Regions from separate parts of the Homo sapiens genome. Here region 2 is linked to region 1. The links are contacts of gene promoters, found by promoter capture Hi-C in human tissues and cell types (Jung and others, 2019). All regions are on one chromosome and are shown on one strand. The core of a region is centred on a gene start or on the middle of the fragment in contact, and the rest is flanking DNA. Distances in the headings are between cores, read along the strand shown. Region 1 holds the start of TUBA1A (tubulin alpha 1a). Region 2 overlaps SPATS2 (spermatogenesis associated serine rich 2).

Region 1 (3,516 bases), core at 743-3,242:
TATTGTAAAGAAAATAATGTTCAAACTCTGCTTCTCATTCCAAAAAGACTTGTACATGTTACTATAGTCCAATAGTGTCTGATATATTTTATTATTAAAATTGTGAAAGTATTTTGAATGAGCTACTTATTAATCCTTATGCTTCCTTATGCCATTTAATTCTTATTTTTGTTAAATATATTTCTGGGTTCTGAAAGAAGCATTCAAATACCTAATCCTCCTGTCTCTTCTGAAATATACTTTTTTTTTTTTTTTGCTAAAGAAGTGGAGATAAGATGATGTTGAGGATTATTTTTTCCTAGGAAATATACAATAAGTAGATAAAATGATTTTTGCATTTTGGATATTATTTTTTTTCCAGAGAATATTACTGAAGCAAAATTGATCAAGTAAAGCAGAACTGTGGATGGCAGGCTAGAAAAATCTGTGGTCGCCATTGTCACACCACAACCTGCAGCAGCTGTATTCTCAAGTCCCTCCCTCCCACGCCCTTCTTAGCCTGCCAGCCTAGCAGGAATGAATGGGTTCCGCAGAGCACTGTGTGAGTAGTGCTGCAGACCCTGAAAATTTGTCTCTGAAAACCAAAAGGAAAAATTATTTGTAAAAAATAAATTTTCAACTTTAGTGGCCAAACTTATTTACCTCTGAAATTTCATCACCAACATCCAGTGGTACGAAGTCCAGTGACTTACTCCGGATCGTTGCTGAGAATGGAGGCTTCCTAAATATCAAGATAATTTTACTCCAATTTATTTCCTAGGGGTGAAAGCAAAGCCTTTTTGTCCCAAGGGACAACTGAGCAACCACCAGAGTCTCTAGCTGAACAGCAAGGGTGTGAGGCCGGCTAAAATTCCCACAGTTAGAAGCCCACTCGCAGGAGGATATTTACCAAATTGACATAAGAACTACATAAAAAGGAAATGCGTTTATTGAGCTGATGTTTCACAGTTGTCTGTGGATGGAGGCGACATTGCAAAATTCTTTTTACATTATATTATTCTCTTCTTCTTTTTAATTTGGTGTATTGGTTATTACTATTATTTTGCTTGTTACTTTCCAGACAAAAGTCCAATTCAGATATGTAACTGCACACATGTAGTACTAACTTCTGAGCTCAATTATTTCTCCTTGTATTTTCCCAATTTTCTATCAGGAAAGATGATTCATTCCAAAGGACAATGTACCATACAAAATGTGTTACATAGACTTCTCATAAAAGAATACCTCTAGTAAACCATTATAACTACTCTACGTTCACTTGCTCTTGATTATTGCCATGTTAGAACTATTTGTTCGCTTCTTTATTTAATATGGTTATTCTTTCCATCTTCCAGTTTTGTTTAGCTATTCGGGTGTGCGTGTGCCTGCAGAAGAAGCTCTGAAAATAAGTTAGTTGAACCTGAGAAACCATTTGGAATGACCGTATGGCTAAATCTTTTTTTAAATTAAAAAAATCACATATACCCAGGCCATTTCGAGCATCATGCCGATTTTCCCTCCCACTTTACGTTTAAAGCAATTAGAGATGTTGAACCCTAACAAAATGTAGTCGAGTTTAATATACTACGAGGGAGGGGCTGGCAGTCATTTTCCTTTAAATATTTAATCTAAACATAAATTGTTATTAAGGGTAGGGGGAAAAAACCTCACATAGATAATTTTAACTGCAGTTTGAGGTTTAAGCAACAGAAAGTCTTCTAACCCCAGTCCCCTTTCTTCTCCTTCCGCCCCTCCCCAACCCCGCCCCATAATGGATGCTCGGCCGACTGCTTCTGCACGGTCTCTTTGTCTAAAGGATGCAAACAGTCTACGGATGCTAGAGAAAAAGGGGTGGGGGAGAGATTACCTCATCCCACGTCGCTTGCACCAATCACCAGTCTCCTGTCATGGCTTCTCTGGGCAGATTGGGGGTCTGGACCAACAGGAAAAGGCCCCGGCCCATCCCCATGGTGACCGAGTTGTATATAGGGAGCCGCATCCGCCTATGTGCCGCAGGTTCTCTTACATCGACCGCCTAAGAGTCGCGCTGTAAGAAGCAACAACCTCTCCTCTTCGTCTCCGCCATCAGCTCGGCAGTCGCGAAGCAGCAACCATGGTGAGAATCGGCTTCGGCTCTTTGTGGCCGTTGGGTGGAGTCAGCGCCCCCAGGCTCTACTTGGAAAACCTTTAAGCTCTTTTCTTTCGTAAGCTCTCTGGGCGAGGGTGGTGGTATGTTTTGTGAGGTTTAGCTTAGCCCCAAATCCTCAAGCCCCGCCGCCGCCGCAGTGCGGGTGCAGGAACCGGGCCAGTACTGCGCCCAGGGCGCAGCAGAGCGCTGGGGAGGAACAAAGGCGGCGCCTAGGCGCCTGTGTTATCCGAGAGACTTTCGGGGGCCGCGGGCAGCCCGTCTGCCGCGACCGAGGGGTCTGGGGCGTCCCGGCTGGGCCCCGTGTCTGTGCGCACGGTTTCGCTGATGCTGAGGGGCCACTTTCTGTCTCGCGTTGTTCTCTGGGGACCGGGAGAGGAGGAGGCACCCAAAAAGAGCGGGGGCGTTGGGCGAGCTGGGGGACGTGGGAGGGGGAACGGGAACAAAGCGCAGCCTAGGGTTAGCGTGGGAAGACCCTCCGCGGTCTTTGGCGTTTTGGAAAGATACCCACACATTCCCGGGAAAACATGGTGAGTTTCTGCCGGAGCCCCCGGCAGCGGGTGTCAGGGCGGCGCAGGGGCGGGGTTGTTTGTTTCTGGCTTCTATGGCGTTGGAGCCACTGGGCGGGGTTCGCCCTCACTGAACCTCTTCTGTCAGGAGCTGACTGAAAAAAAAACAAAAAAACCTTTCATCATTGCGGAACTGTAGGCTCCAAAAGGGTTTTCTTCACTATTATAAGTTAGATGACTTTTTTTTTTCTTGAGCAAAATCATAATTCACTTCACAAGCTCTTTAATGTCTGGTCTGGGGACGCCCTGCCCTGACCGACTGAAGTGTGTGTGTGTGTGTGTGTGTGTGTGTGTGTGTGTCTGTGGGACGCCCTGCCCTGACCGACTGAAGTGTGTGTGTGTGTGTGTGTGTGTCTGTCTGTCTGTCTGGACTGCACGTTCAGCGAGGGAGAAAGCCCACTTTGTGAGCCCCAGGGTACCCTGATGGTCAGGACCCAGGGAAACGCCCTTCCCCGCCGCCCCCCCGCCCCGCCCCCACCACATCAGCGAATAGACAATGAAAGTGGTAGCCCTAAAGACCACAGAGAAGAAAACCTCTATTGGATGCAAAGAATATGAATATTATGTGATGGGTAGAGAATCTCAGGATGAAAATACTATTTTGTTGTTTTAAATAAATATTTCATTATCCTTCCACTGGGCTTTTATTCTTTGGTACCTTTTCATGTGATGCTTGTTTCTAACTTAGGAACTTTTGTGTGTGTGTGTGTTAAGATACGGATAATTTTTCAGCTTTTACAGTGGAGAAGATCTGGAAAAACCTTTTTTTTTAAAAAAAAAAGTAATGAAATTGCTACAGACAAAGAAGAATTATACTCCGCA
Region 2 (3,516 bases), core at 431-2,930, 330 kb before region 1:
TATAAAATGAAAAGAGCATCTCTCTTATTTCTGATTTTGTGGTCTCCTCTCCAGGGGAAACGACTGTTCACCATTTCTTACGTACACATCCAAATATTGTGTATGTACATACAACATGCATACATATGTAGCTCTCTTTTTTCCCTTCTCACAAATGGAAGTATATCATACACATGGTCTTTCTTTTACCTTAGCTATTTTTACTTAATATATCTTTAAATTTATTCCCTATTAATACATCTGGATCACCTTCATTCTGTTTAACAGCCACCCAGTATGTGGATATACCACAATTATTTACCGAGTTCCCTAGTGATGGGTATTTAGATTGTTACACCCTTTTAAGAACCACCTTCTCTGGCATGCTTTCTGATATATAACTTGGATATGGTCATGGCAGAGAACATACAATAAAAATCTCCCAGAGAGACAGGGGCTACAGTGGAAACAAAACCAAAGAAATCCTCCCAGGAAGCAGATAAACCACCCAACGAATGTTCTCTACTACCAGGGAAGGGACTCTGCTATTCCTTCCCATCCAGCAAGATTTGATCATTGCTTTTCCAAGTGGGAATTTTTACTATAATTATCCTTTTCTTTCTCCAACTATGTAATATGGGAGAAGGGGGCATTTAGCCTTTCTTTTAATTTATGAGACCCCATCCTTGGAAGATCTGAAATCACTCTGAAGACCTGGCCTTTCAGCTGAATATTAACTAACTAGATGAGACTTTGGAGGTATTGCTATTGAGGAGGTGGTGAACATATTCTCATTTTGGAAAAAAGAGGGATACTGGGTAGTGGAGGACTGTAGCAAAGACCATTAGCTGATGGAACACAGTCTTTCCAACTACATTCAGGAACATTCAGGGCTATCAGAAATCCAATGTTGTTGGGTACCAACATAATTGGGTAAAAAAAAAATCTATATTTTCTGGCTTTGCTACAGATGAAACGGCCATGTGATATAGTTTCCCCATTGAGATATAAGCAGAACTCAAAGGGCAGGCTTTACAGGAAAGCGTTTTAAGGGAGTCTTAGCATGTAACGTTTTACTCCTTCTCGACTGGAGCCTAGGGAGTTGTCTTTTGACCATAAGCATACTCTCAGAATGGCTGGGCAGAAGAACAGAAGATCCTGGGTCCCTAATGTCATCTGGGAAATGTCCTGCCAGCCCTGGGTTGCTTACCTCTGTACTTTTCATTTTCTGAGAAAAAAGGACACTCACATTTATTTAGGCCACTCTGTTCCATGTAGTCAAACTCAATCCCTAACTGATATACATAGAATCCTGTAACACACTGAGGAATTAGCCAAATTCACGTCAGAAAAAAACAGAAGTTTTAAAGAGTTACACCAGGTATTACAGAGAGCTGGATGTATTTAGCAAGTTTACTCAGCCCAACTGCCACAGAGATGCACACATGGGCTGCCTAGACCCAAGTCACACTAATCAATCAGGGCCCACTTTCTCAGGAGTCAGGAGCATGCCTACAAAAGTTTCTTAACGCCAAAGCCCAACAGTTACAAATGATCTATTGGTTTAGGTCCCAAGATAAAACCTATTTGCCATTTGTATCAACTTCAGTTTCTCTCAGCTCTAGCATTCAGTGATTCTATGACAAAATTATAGCTCTCAAAATGGCAAAAATGAGGTGAATAAAAAGCTTTCTACACGTAACAGATAACTCATAGGACCTAATTATACAACACTGGAAAAGATTGAAATACTACAAACCTATCAGTTACTTAATAAAATTATAATATGTAAAAAACAAAAAGCAACTCTTGATAGCACTGGTAAATGAGTAATTACTCTTGATAGCATTGGTAAATGAGTAATATCATTGAGAACCAGGATTTTCAGGGAGAAAAGAGCTAAAGATATAAAACTGATGAAGTTAAGTAAAACTTTGAGCTCTGAATTTGATAAAATAAGATTGGCCACAAATTGATAATTGGTTGAAGCTGAGTGATGGGAATTTGTTACATTAGCCTCGCTATCTGAAATTTTCTTTTCTTTTCTTTTTTTTTTTTTAGTTTTGAGATGGAGTCTTGCTCTGTCGCTAGGCTGGAGTGCAGTGGCGCAATCTCGGCTCACTGCAACCTCTGCCCCCTGGGTTCAAGTGATTCTCCTGCCTCAGCCTCCCGAGTAGCTGGGACTACAGGCGCATGCCACCATGCCCAGCTAATTTTTGTATTTTTAGTAGAGACAGGGTTTCACCATGTTGGCCAGGATGGTCTTGATCTCTTGACCTCGTGATCAGCCCGCCTCGGCCTCCCAGAGTGCTGGGATTACAGGCGTGACCCACTGCACCCGGCCAAAATTTTCTATTAATATAAAAGATGTATTAATATTCTTAAAAGCACCTTCTTTTTTTTTAATTTCAAGACAGGGTCTTGCTCTATCGCCCAGGCTGGAGTACAGTGGTGCAATCACAGCTCACTGCAGCCTCGACCTCCTGGGCTCAAGTGATCCTTCCACCTCAGCCTCTCAACTAACTAGGACTACATGTAGCACATGACCCCATGCCTGATTTATATATATATATATATATATATATATATATATATATATATATTTTTTTTTTTTTTTTTTTTTTTTTTTTTGAGATGGAGTCTTGCTCTGTTGCCAGGCTGGAGTGCAGTGGCGCAATCTCGGCTCACTGCAACCTCTGCCCCCTGGGTTCAAGTGATTCTCCTGCCTCAGCCTCCCGAGTAGCTGGGACTACAGGCGTGTGCCACCATGCCCAGCTAATTTTTGTATTTTTAGTAGAGACGGGGTTTTATCATGTTGGCCAGGATGGCCTCGATCTCCTGACCTCGTGATCTGCCCGCCTCAGCCTCCCAAAGTGCTGGAATTACAGGCATGAGCCACTGCGCCCAGCCTTATTTCTTATTTTTTGTAGAGACGAGGTTTCACTATGTTGCCTAGGCTGGTCTCAAACTCCTGGGCTCAGGTGATCCGCCCAAAGTGCTGGGATTATATGCGTGAGCCACCACGCCTGGCCTAAAAGGACCTTCTTCTCAAAACTAAGAAATATGTCTTCTTAGTGGTTTTAGTTTATCTGCATTTCCATTTTCAAAAAGAGAATATACAGATAAAATAATGGACTGAAATGTCAAATTTAGAAACTCAAAATATATTGCTCAATGTAATGAAATCTCACCTCTGAAAAACAGTGGAAGGCATCTCTGCTACATTCTCAAATTTTCAAGTTAAAATGGACCAAAGCTGAAGTCATTTCAGTGCTTCAAAGCTGCATCCTCTGGCCCGTGACCACACACACAAGTGATTTAACTGTGAGTCATGATCTCGACCTAGCCCAGCATTTCTATTCTTACCAGTTTGGGGGTGGGTTAAAATAAACAACTTTCCTAATAATTAATCTGGCGTTCAATGCAGGAAGATAAAACCTGCCACCGAAATGCCTCAAATCAATGCCATTGTACAAGTTGCAGTTGGTATTCCCTTGTCTTCGTGTAGCTGTGTATGTTTAACCTAACACTTAACAG

What was found. Contacts are between HindIII fragments. The study calls those that stand out against the background at their distance.
Region 2: a contact is called between a fragment that was not itself captured here and the fragment with the promoter of TUBA1A in region 1, in 2 of the 25 tissues and cell types used here (dorsolateral prefrontal cortex and lymphoblastoid cells).

Annotation. Positions count from the first base shown.
Region 1 is chr12:49,187,556-49,191,071 of GRCh38, reverse strand. It overlaps TUBA1A (tubulin alpha 1a), which reads left to right and starts at 1,992. Exons shown (of 4, transcript NM_006009.4): 1 at 1,992-2,095. The coding sequence starts at 2,093. RefSeq lists enhancers at 2,104-2,223, 1,722-2,313. The HindIII fragment of the contact is 17,236 bases long and covers 1-3,516 here.
Region 2 is chr12:49,515,233-49,518,748 of GRCh38, reverse strand. The region is part of intron 10 of SPATS2 (spermatogenesis associated serine rich 2); the gene reads right to left. Among named protein-coding and RNA genes, the nearest start is that of KCNH3, 22 kb to the left of the region's middle. The HindIII fragment of the contact is 7,896 bases long and covers 1-3,516 here.